Regions from separate parts of the Homo sapiens genome. Here region 1 is linked to region 2. The links are contacts of gene promoters, found by promoter capture Hi-C in blood cells and fetal thymus (Javierre and others, 2016). All regions are on one chromosome and are shown on one strand. Each heading gives the region's core, a stretch centred on a gene start or on the middle of the fragment in contact. The rest is flanking DNA. Distances are from core to core; before and after follow the strand shown. Region 1 overlaps PAQR5 (progestin and adipoQ receptor family member 5). Region 2 holds the start of GLCE (glucuronic acid epimerase).

Evidence for each region. Contacts are between HindIII fragments. The CHiCAGO score rates a contact against its expected background, and 5 or more counts as called.
Region 1: a contact is called between a fragment that was not itself captured here and the fragment with the promoter of GLCE in region 2, in 1 of 17 cell types (M2 macrophages). The highest score is 5.3, in M2 macrophages.

Annotation. Positions count from the first base shown.
Region 1 is chr15:69,358,594-69,364,436 of GRCh38, reverse strand. It overlaps PAQR5 (progestin and adipoQ receptor family member 5), which reads right to left. Exons shown (of 9, transcript NM_017705.4): 3 at 4,306-4,471. The coding sequence starts at 4,356. Among named protein-coding and RNA genes, the nearest start is that of KIF23, 53 kb to the left of the region's middle. The HindIII fragment of the contact is 810 bases long and covers 1,099-1,908 here.
Region 2 is chr15:69,156,299-69,162,519 of GRCh38, reverse strand. It overlaps GLCE (glucuronic acid epimerase), which reads right to left and starts at 1,885. Exons shown (of 5, transcript NM_015554.3): 1 at 1,763-1,885. It also overlaps the pseudogene LOC100421574. RefSeq lists silencers at 1,506-1,615, 1,816-2,025 and an enhancer at 1,723-2,223. The HindIII fragment of the contact is 10,275 bases long and covers 1-5,185 here.

The DNA.
Region 1 (5,843 bases), core at 254-2,753, 200 kb before region 2:
TTTGTTTTGTTTTGTTTTGTTTTTGGAGACAGAATGGTGATTGCTTTAAAATCACCCACCTCGGCATCCCAAAGTGCTAGGATTACAGGTGTGACCCACCGAGCCCTGCTTCTATCATATTTTAATAAGCTACCAGGTAATTCTGACATTGGTGATCTAAGCACTCTCTCTGAATAGCACTGGGCTGGAGAAACCATTTACCTGTTGAGATGGCTCCTTGTTCCCAGTGCCTGAGCCCACCTACCAAACACCTATGCCAGACACTGATCTGGCTGTGCTTCCTTCATTCATAATAATCCCACTGTTCTATTTCATTTTTATTGGATCTTCACAATTGCCCTGTGAGACTGACTTAACAGGAGTCACTTCCATCTTACAGATAAGAACACTGAGACTAAGTTTATGACTGTGTGGCAGAGCTGCAGTGCAAGTCTGGAAACGGCGTTGCTTTTCCTCTCTGTGTAGACCACTGCCTCAGGGAATCCTCCTGTCCATGCCCCTAAACTAAGGCATCTGGGACTATGGGATGTGTTTACCTGTAGCCTGTGAGTCAAGGCTGTAGTTATTTAAAGCTTAGCAATTTGTCTGGGTTCAGTGGCTCACACTTGTAATCCCAGAACTTTGGGAAGCTGAGGCAGGCGGATCACTTGAGGTCAGGAGTTCGAGACCCAGCCTGGCCAACATGGTGAAACCCTGTTGTTACTGAAAATGCAAAAAGTATCTGGGCATGGTGGCGTGCACCTGTAGTCCCAGCTACTTGAGAGGTTGAGGCAGGAGAAGGAGAATCGCTTGAACCTGGGAGGCGGAGGTTGCAGTGAGTCATGATAGTGCCACTGCACTCCAGCCTGGGTGACAGAGCAAGACTCTGTCTCAAAAAAAAAAAAAAACAAAAACAAAAAACAGATTAGCAATTTGACACTCGATGTTCTTGTTTCCTGGCAAAGTGTCACGCCATGTTGCATATGAACTTGTTGTCTTTTTTCTAGGCCTCTCTGTTTTGTCTCTAAAGGGGTCTGTGTAAGAATCAACATCTAGATAATTATTCCATTCCTTGAGGTTTTGTTCACATCTTTAATGACCCTCTGATGTACCCAAGCTTAGTTTTGGACACAAGGGAGACTAAATATTATGAGGCATACACACAAATTCTGCCTTCTGAGGGAAGAGAGAAACTGCCCTTTTCCATGAACAATCTATCAGCCAGGAATGCACCAAGAATGGACCAGGATTACAACTCTGATGATGCAGAGAGGTGGGCACACCATTCCCTATAGATGGCTGAGGCCCAGACAGGGTAGTGAAGTGGCCCAGGTCACATAGCTGGCTGATACACAAAAGGAGAGGCAGCTGTACAGAGCAGCTTGTAGAGGTACAACCAACAGCTGAAGGAGCTCGGGGAAGGGAGCAGGCACCTGCCACTCCATAAAAAAGGAAGTCACAAAGGGGGAGCAAAGGTTGGGGAGAGGAAAGCCTTCTTCAAACAGAAATCAAGACAAGTGAAGGTTGCATCTCCTGGGGAGAATAAAGAGAAGAGGGTCTGTGGATGGGACGTGGTGGAAGAGGTGGGGAGGGATCAGGCTGGTGAAGGTGGTGAACAGCAGGCGAGGGAGCCGGGGTTCGAGTCTATGGACAGGGCCTCTGAAGTCTCCTGCCAGCATGCTCTACCCCTCAAAGTGCCCTAAAGAGCCTAGGAGAGAATGCTAATAATGACAACCAACATTATTAATTGTTCACCACGTGCCAGGCACTTCACTTGGGTTATCTCATTTAATTCTCACAACCCCAGGAGGCAGATACTGTTGTCATTCCCATTTTACAGAAGCCAAAGCTGAGGTAGAGAGATTATCTTGCTTGAGGCCACTCTAAAAACCAAGTATTGGAACCCACAGATCCCACCAAAGGTAAGCTTTAACAATTGTATGAAGTATCCTATTTTAAATATTCATGTAAATTGTGCATTCCATTTTTAATACCTGTGCATCTGTTTTAATACTAATAAATGTCTTTGCCCCCAAATCCTCAGGTAAAACTACCCTCCAGGCAGGCAGAGCCACTATATTTTCTCTATGGCTTCATGAACCCTGGGCATGATGCCCAAAAACCCAATAGTGGATGCTGGAGCCCAAGGCAGATTTTGAAGCAAACGGTGGCTGCAAAGTGTGATGTTGGTCTTCTGCCTCTAGCTAGTGCCATTTCACTAAAGATATCATCATCCTCTAACTTACGAAAAACTGGACAGAGAGGACATGTTCATCTTTCTCCCTTAGCCTCTGCCAGGGTTGTCCAGCCCTGACATTCAGAATCTCCATACATTCAGATTCCCAGCAGGTTACCCAAAGGACCTATTGATACCACTCTGCCCCCTTCACTTCTTTCCTGCGGACATACTCTGAATCCAACCCTGACCAAAATGTCCAGAAAGATATCTAAGCAGACTCCCATAACCTCTACCCCCAAGACGCTCCCCAGTCCCCCCACCATCACCACCTGCCCCATGATCTCCCATCTCTAGGCCTTTGCTCACACTGCTCCTTCCACCTGGAATGCTCTCCCCACTTCCACAATCCTGTCCACCCCTCAGATCACCCCCTTCATGAAGCCTTCCCTGATCACTTCCTCCCTGATATAATTTGGCTCTGTGTCCCCATTCAAATCTCATCTGAAATTGTAATCCCTATAATTCCCACATGTCAAGGGAGGAACCTGGTGGGAGGTGATTGGATCATGGGGGTGTTGTCCCCCAAACTGTGAGTGAGTTCTCTTGAGACCTGATGGTTTCATAAGTGTCTGACAGTTCCTCCTTCACATCATGCTCTCTCTTGCCTACTGTCATGTAAGACGTGCCTCTTCCCTCATGATTGTAAGTTACCTGAGGCCTCCACAGCCATGAGGAACTGTGAGTCAATTAGACCTCTTTTCTTTATAAATTACCAGGTTTCAGGCAGTTCTTTATAGCAGTGTGAGAATGGACTAATACACTCCCTCGTGATGGAAGTGACCAATCCCTTCTCTGAAACAATCACCCTGTCTTAAGATAGACCCTAACCCACTTTAGAAAAGAATTTCTCATGCACATTTAAAAATCTTCCTGACCAACATATGAGTCACGCAAGGACAGGATTTGTATGTAATTATTCTCTGAATCCCTTGCACATAGTAGGCAGTCAATACAAATTTCATGAGTAAATAAATTCAAGAATCACACTGTGTTCCCACTAATCACAGCTGCTAATGCTCTATGGGTAGAACCAACCAGCAAAGTGCACCAAAAGGAGAAGGTGATTGCCCTGTGAGAACAGAGGCAGGTGCTCTGCCCAGTGTCATGGGAGACAGCCACACGTGTAGCTTGCCTATTACTTGCCACATTCCTCAGCTCACCCCACCAAACAGCTCTGCACCACTTACGGTTTTCCCCCATGCCATCTTCCTGGAATCACCTGGCTTCACAGGCTTTTAGGGTTAGGGTTTGGCAATTTCCCCCTCAACCTTCCATTGGTGATGTTGAGTTTATTTCAAACTTATTTTTCTGGGGCAAGTCATAAGTGCTTGGTAATCAGCCAAGCCAAGTAGAACTCTCCTCCACTCTGTCACATCTTCCCAAAGAAACTTCCCACCATGAAATGACACCCACTTTTCTTAGTCAAAAAGGAAGGAAATTTGACATCAACAAAGGGGTGCAACACAATGATGTTTCCTTTGCAAGAGAAGGAGGAAGTGCACCAGTTCTCTGTAGCACACAACCAGGCTCACCTATGGCTTAGTAAAGCAGATCATCAGTGAGTCTCACATATTTCAGGGTACCTGCCTGTGAGCTCCCAGGCCCATGGGTCCACTAAAGGGCAATGCTAAGGCTCATTCAACAACCCTCCCCATCGCCCCAGTGAAGGCCTGGCCTGGGCATCCTGCAAGTAATGGGGATGAGCAAAGCCATGACCTGGTGTGCCTTTGCCCATAGCCTGCTTTCAAGCACCCATAGGAGGGGCCTGAAAAAATAAACTTCCTACCCAGCCAGCTGCTGCTGGCTTTATCTCTTCAGGTTGAATCTCAGTAATGACTTTGCTTCTGGATAACACACAGATGTTGCAAGGAAGGGTTACAACTTAAACAACTTTGGGAATACTTCCATTTCAAGGTAGGTGGGGGAAGTAGGAGGCTGTAATATCCCCCAAGGAAGTGTGGGAAGGGGTCCTTGAAGGGAATGGGCCTGTACAGAACAGACTAGGTGAAGACAACAGCCCCCCATTGCGGAGGCCAAGCCCTGGTCACACTCTGGAAATGAACCATCATAATCAATAGAGCACATACCTGGGGTATCTGGTCTATGCTAAACAGCCTGGGGAGCTTCAGGCTCAGCATCTTGGAGCTGGATTGGCAAGGCCAGTAGGTGACAGCGCCTCCCTGTTACCAGGCCTCACTCAAAGCTCTAACATGGCCTGGGGCGTCTCTGCCTAGCTGGTGCTGTGCCGCTTCCCTGAAAGAGGACAGCATGAAGAAATCCAGTCAGTTTCAGCCTAACTCCAGCTGGGTCAGGACAGTCAGCTTGTTCAACTATTGAACATATACTTGCTACACATGATGGCACAAGATCAAGCTTCCTTAAAAACAGCAAAATGATCAGACTGCTGAGTCATCCACTCCAAGAGTGCTGGAGGGAGGTAATTAATAATAAGGGAGGAGACCACCCCTCATATTGTCTTATGCCCAATTTCTGCCTCCAAAGAAAGAAAAAGTAAAATCTAAAAGGCAGAAATGAAATCCACAAGCAGACAGCCGGCACCACACCCTGGGCCTGGTAGTTAAAGATTGACCCCTGATCTAATCAGTTATGTTATCTATAGATTACAGACATTGTATAGAAAAGCACTGCGAAAATCCATATCCTGTTTTGTTCCCATCTAATTACCAGTGCATGCAACCCCCAGTTACATACCCCCTGCTCGATCAATCAATCACGACCCTCTCACACGCACCCCCTTAGAGTTGTGAGCCCTTAAAAGGGACAGGAATTGCTCACTTGGGGAGCTCGGCCCTTGAGACAGGAGTCTTGCTGATGCCCCCCGGCCAAATAAACCGCTTCCGTCTTTAACTCGGTGTCTGAGGAGTTTTGTCTGCGGCTCATCCTGTGACAATAATATGGGCAATTACTATGGTCTGAATGTTTGTGTCTCCCCAAAATTCATGTGTCAAAACCTAATCTCCAATGTGGTGACAAGGAGCAGGGCTTTTGGGAGGTGACTAGGTCATGAAGGCTCTGCCCTTACGAGTGGGATTAGTGCTCATAGAAAAGAGGTGTGAGGGAGCTTGTTCGCCCCTTCCACCATGTGAAGACACATAGAAGGAGACATCTATGAGGAATGGGCCCTCACCAGACGGGGAATCTGCTGGCACTGTGACCTTGGACTTCCCAGCCTCCAGAACCATTAGCAATAAATTTCTGTTGTTTATAAATTACCCAGTCTTAGATATTTTGTGATAGCATGCCAAATGGACTAAGACAGTGATCATAAAATTGCAGAGCTAAGGCCAGGTGTGGTGGCTCATGCCTATAATCCCAGAAATTTGGGAGACTGAGATGGGACGATCAGTTGAGCCCCAGAGTTCAAGACCAGCCTGGGTGATATAGTGAGACCTTGTTTCTACAAAGAAGAAATTAAAATTAGCTGGGTATGGTGTTATACTCAAGGGCGGGCTAAAGTGAGATCACTTCAGCCCAGGAGGTCAAGGCTGCTGTGAGCCATGATCATGCCACTGCACTCCAGCCAGAGCAACACAGCAAGAATCTGTCTCAAAAAAAAAAAAAAAATGCCACAGAGCTGAAAAGAAAAGGGCCTTAGAGGTCACCC
Region 2 (6,221 bases), core at 636-3,135:
TAAGGCAGGCAAAATTATTTGCTTTGGTATACTCAAATTTGTCTGTTAACCCCAGATTACATATTTACAGAACAGCTCTGAGTACGGACTTCACTGCCTGCCACATTAACTTTCATATACAGGCCTCTGTGATAGAGTAACTAACCAAAAGAAATGTCAGGCAAACACATAGGCTTTCTCACCTATACGCTGTTTTTTTTTTTAACCAATACACATACATACAAGTCATTTTATTTAAATCCCACCTACGCCTACGCTAGTTACCAAAACCTCTGTAATATCCAAGGCTAAATACACTTTTACAATACAATGAAACTGTTAAGCAGAATTCTCTAAAAAAGCTCGATTAACCATCCTTACAGGTCACAGAAAACGTTTTTGCAGAGTTCTAGCTTTGGGATTTCAAATTCCATTGTTTTCTGGAGGCTGAATTTGACGTTATCCCTCTCTACAAATGCTTTTCAAAGGACAGAAAGAAGCCAGACAGAACACGCTTCCCTGCACTATCCGACTCTGCCTAACATTCACTCAGGCAAGACTTCAGAACAGATCTAATCATGCAGGATGAGCAAAGCAGACCACCACCTAGGAAAGCAAGCCAAAATCAGTCTTCCCCACCCTCAACAGATTCCAGTTGCTCAGGAGCTGTATCCACGCTCAACCTGCGGACACCGGCCTCCTAAAGAACCTGCAGACCAAACGCCCACCTAAGGTGCTGCCACTCTAGCTCCCGGAGCTCCAGCGAGACCAGCGCGCCCCCACAGGGATCCCGGGGCAGAGAAAAGAAAACTGCAGAACAAACGCACTGCTTCTTCAACTAGGCAACAACACCGATCAATCCTCCAACTAAGCATTGAGTAAATCTCATCCAGAGAGAAGGAGACCTGAACAAAAACGTTTCAGGATGCTGCCCAGCCTGCGCGGTAGCACCAAAGCCCTCTCCCGCCCTCAGCGGACCCAGCGCCTGCGGAGCCGCGCCCACCCCGAGAGACTGCCCGGGGGCCAGCTAACTCGCCCCGTCGCCCCCAAAAGACTGGAGACCATGCCAAGTTACCGCCCCGCTCCGGGCAAAGCAGAAACCCCGGCCAGACGCTGGTCGCCGCTACACACCCTCAGCCCCCAACAACCCCCCAAGGCGGCCCCGGCCCCAGCGGAACGGATACATCGCTCTCTCACCCGGAGACACCGATGAACAGACCCCTCTCCCCAGAACCCGGACACACTGCTTCTTCATCCCAGCAATGCGAAACGGACGCCCACGCCCGCTCAAAGAACCCCCAAGACCCCGATGATCTGCCTCCAGAGACAAGGTTTACACCGGTGTAAACCTTGCTAAACTGCATTCTCTGCCCCAAAGAGCTCGGGACCCGGGTAAAAAGACCCCTTGTCCCGGAACCCCGCTACACCACCTCCAAGAAGCTCAAGACCCTGATAAATCTCCCTCGACGTCAAAGACCTAGGACCCCGTGTGCCGCCACCCACCCCTACCCCAAGCCGGAAGAGCCCCCAGGATCCCTAATACATTGCCCCCTCACCTCGGGAGCTCCGGCACCCGCTACACCGCCCTTGGGCGCCCGCGCCCGGATCCCACTGCACCGCCTCCTCGCCCCCCGGACTCCCAAACCCCGCCAAGCCTCGCGCCCACCAGGCAGCGCCGCGCAGCCCCCAGAGCCGCCCCCGTCAGGAGCCCGCCTGCTCCGGCTGCTCCGTGTCCCCGCTCCCCGACCGCTCCTCAGCGGAGACGCGCTCCGGGCTTTCTAACCTGAGCAGCGTCGGAGGGCGAGCAGACACGGGAGCCCTGAGGAAGAGAAGGAGACAGCAGAGAAGGGGTGGCTCAGGCCTGCGGTGCCGCAGCTCCAGCCTCTCGGCAAGGAAGCGCTTGTGTGAGGAGAGCCCTCCCGCTCCGCGCGCAGCCGGGAGACCGAGCCACCGCCGTGCCCGCAGCTCTTCCCGCGAGATCCCAGCCACGGCAAGGGGCGGGGCCACGGCGGGGGGCGGTAGCGGCAGCTCCTCGAGTGACAGTCCTGGCAGCCTGTCGGCTGCAGGACGGGCGGCAGGACTCGGAGTCTACTACGACCAATTGTAAAAAAGGAAAGGTGATTCTCCCCGCCCCTTCTCCGCCCCTCTTCTTCTCCGCTCCTCCTTAATAAACTGTGAGCAAAGGTAGTAGTGACCAGAAGTAGTAGGAGGCAGTGGACTTTCGCGGTAAGGTAGCTCGAATGACGTGACGTGCTTGGCTTGTGTGTGGTCCTGCTAGGCCGCCGTAGATACACCTGGTTTGGGGAAGAGGCTGGTCTTCACACCGGTGTAAACCGAGGTGCGGTTACCCTTGGTTACAGCGCTGCCCGAAGTGCGCTGGGGATTCCCATCTTCCAGGTTGAAGGCCCACCCACTCCGGTTACCCGCGTCTAAACCTCCATTTAATTCCTTTCCCCGATTTGGGCCTCTCCTCCCTCTCCACCTCAAACAGGGCACCATTGTTAAGATGCCCATGTTTTCCAAACCCCAACCCAGGACATCTGGTCTGACAAAGAACTCGTCTGATGACTGTATTTATTTCTACATACAGCCTTCCAGAAGAATGAAAAGCAAATCTCGAGTTACCAACATAACAAATTCCAAAATTAATGAAAAGTCGTACCTTTATAGACCCCAGTGCCCAGTAGTATTTGGCACACCCAGGGCACTGAATAATGTGAAAGGAATGAATTAAGACTGTTAAATATATGCAAATCTCGAGTTACCAACATAACAAATTCCAACATTACATGAAAAGTCGTACCTTTGTAGACCCCAGTGCCCAGTAGTATTTGGCACACCCAGGGCACTGAATAAGGTGAAAGGAATGAATTAAGACTGTTATACTTAAATATATTAAATCTGGACCTGGCCCCAGAAAATTCGGCTTTCCTAGCCTTTCCTCTATAATGTGAGCCAGTGGCTTCACCCTTAAATCCAGGCTCTTCATTATTATGCCTATCCTGTACCTTCATTCATCTTACCCTCTTCACTCCCTCACCCACAGCAAGAAGTGCCCTTTCTCCTCAAGGTTAAATCTTGCACCTGTGCCCTGGATCCCAGCCATTCCCAGATTTTATTCAGCTATTCTTTCTTTCCCCATTATTAATTTCTTCCTCTAACCTAAATCTTTCTCCCACAAACATAGTCTCGCCCATCCTTTGAACAGAACAAAGCCACCCAATCTCTTCCACCCAAACTACCTTCTCCTTTCTCCTAGGAATCACACTTCTTGGGAAACATTATATTTGCTGCTGAGCACTGTGGCTCATGCCTGTAATCCCAGCACCTTGGGATGCCAAGGTGGGAGGATTGCTTGAGGCCAGGAGTTTGAAACCAGTCTGGGAACATAATAAGGCTCCCCTATATGCAAAAAATAAAAAACTAGCCGGGTGTGGTGGCACACACCTATAGTCCCAGCTATTCGCGGTGGGGGAGGCGGGGTGCTGAGATGGGATGATCGCTTGAGTGTGGGAGGTTGAGGCTGCAGTGTACTGTGACCAAGCCACTGCACTCCAGCCTGGGCCACAGATTGAGGCCCTGTCTCTAAATAAATAAATAAAAGTATACTTGTTGTCTCCACTTTCTCATCTCTTATTTTTCCCACTACAGCGTTGCTTTTGCTCACACAATCTGCTATTCTTTCAATGGTTACAAAAGACCTCTTACCTTCTAGAATAATGGTCTATTTTGGGGTATCTTTCTCATGACCTCTCTCAGCTTATTGACAATGCTGACATCTCTTCCCTTAGTAGCTGCCTAACTACATTCTCCTGATTCTTTGGCAACTCTTCTTTTTTTTTTTTTTTTCCCTGTCCCTTGTCCTGGTTTGAAAACTTGCATATTTATGTCTCCTTATCTTATAGCCACACCTTGTGCATAATATGAAAAATGGCCACACACAGTTGCACACTTTGAGTGCCAATAAGTGGCTGAGACAAAAGCTGTTAGAAGAGTCCAGAGGAGGAGACATGGCTGTGAGGCTTGAGCTGGGTCATAATGAAACACTACGTTGGCCATATAAATCCAAGGCAGAAACGGAGGCCTTTCAGAGGAGAAAAATAATGTGAACCTGAGCACAGAGAAAAGGATGTGGGCTGAGCCTGGGCTGTAGGTCGACAGGTTTGACAGATAGAAGATTCCTGCAGAGAGTAGCGGGAGGTAAGATTAGAGAAAAATCAAATAGTAAAAGGCCTTAAAAATCAGGCCAAGCCGATTTGACTTGGATTCCATATTAAATGGGGAGCCGGGACCAATTTTAATATTTGTAGGGACCATGAGAAGGCTACACATGGAGACCCACATACCAAATGTCTAAATATGTGAAAGTTAAAAAGCTAACAAATGGAGTACTAAAAGCATTATATCCTTTCACCTTGACAAATGTACTTTCATAACAACTTGGAAGACCCAGTTTGAATTGAGAATTCTGAGACTTCTCAGAGCTCCTTGCTGGAACAAGGCAGGTCAGAGAGAACTGCTCCCCACATGGAGCAGCCTTTACCCTTTGCTTCCCATGGCCCCTTCAGCCCTACAGTGCCAGGTACCCTCCACTCCATGAACGCACTAGCCCACATGTCCAAGCTCTGTCTTCACTTTCTCCCCTCCAAAACAGTCATTTCTTGGCTATTCCACAGGTCCAGGGGTGCATATCTCAGGATCTAGGGGAGAAGCCTATGCAGGCTCTGGAAGTGGCTCAGAGCCATTTGGGCAGGGAATACTGGCTCCTGGGTACCTGATGTGAGGTCTGAAGGGGTACAGTCACCTCCAGGTGGACACATTTCTTGGCTTAATGGACTCCTCAGATGTAGGAGCACAGCTGGGGAAGAGCCAGAGCAGAGCCTTTAAAGGGAAGCCCTGCCTGTCTGCATCTAAAGGTGGTAGCAGCAGAGCCACTGAATTTCTTGGTAGGGTAATGACATGTAGAGTTGATCTATACCTTGAAGTATAAATATGTGCATTTTCTGTTTCCCACACCCTCTGCCTTTGCACGAGTATCTTAATAGCAAGAATGTACTGGAAAGACTCTATCCTTTTCTCCAATGCTCAATTTCATAAATTACACCATTCTATGATTCCCTTGTTAATTAGTGCATCAGAAACCTGGTAGTCTCTAAATGTGAGAAAATAGAAAAGCTATGAAGTGCTCTCAGCCTGGAATCAAGCTTGAAACACTTACATTTGACTTCTAGATAAAAATGCTTTGGAAGTAGAAGCTTTTGGAGAGGCCCATTTGAAGGGTACACAGGCAGTAAGAGTACTCAAAAGGCAGTGAGCTGCCACGGAGGGGGGCACCCCTCTCGCCATCTGTCTTTATGGTGCGATGTTTCACTCTGTGGTCTGACAGTCATGCTCTGTTCCCGCAACCTCTCCATCTGGTACCAAGTGCTCCCTTCCTCATGTTTTGCACTTAGAGCCACCAAGGGGCCAGAACCACTATGGTCTCTGTTTTAGCTATCCAAGCCTAGAATTCTGCCTGTGGATCCTGCACGTCTCTCAGCAGTGCTGCAGATAATTTTAGTGTGAGGCTTTGGCACTTGCTTGATCCCAGAACTGGGATCTACTTGTAGCCTCACTGTCACCATCTGTGACTGGCCTTTGCCAACCTGCAGAACAGAACTAGCTAGCTTCTTACTCAGGTCTTACCATCTGCTGCCTGCATTCTGACCTATTAGTCTAAGTGAGCACAGCCAAGCAGTTCTATCCCTGTTCAGAAGCCTTCCTGGTGTCCCATTCTCTGAGCACTCCCCGAGTAAAGCTACCTCCTGGCCACTGCATATTCACAAGGGCACAGAAGCCAGTATTGTTTGAAAATCTGGCTCTCTCAGACCGAATTTCCACTTCATCTTTTTAGAGCTTTGGGGACCACCTATTTTGTTAGGTTGGAAGCATGAAATTCTCTGTAAATTACCCCAAGACTGAGGGAACAGTACTTATCTGTCCATTTGCTGACTCCAGACTAAACCCCTGACCTTGATTGGTTTGTTCATCTGTATGTGTTTTGCACCTAGCCAATCATAAAGGAGGGAAATAAAAGAACAGTGGCAGTTTAAAAATATGTCCCCAAATTATTTGATATACCATCTCTCAAAAAGTAGGCCTCAATTCCCCTCACCCTGAGTATGGGCTACACCTAGTGACTCACTTCTAGCGAGTAGAATATGGACAAAGTGACTGCTTTTGAGACAAGGCCATAAGAGGCA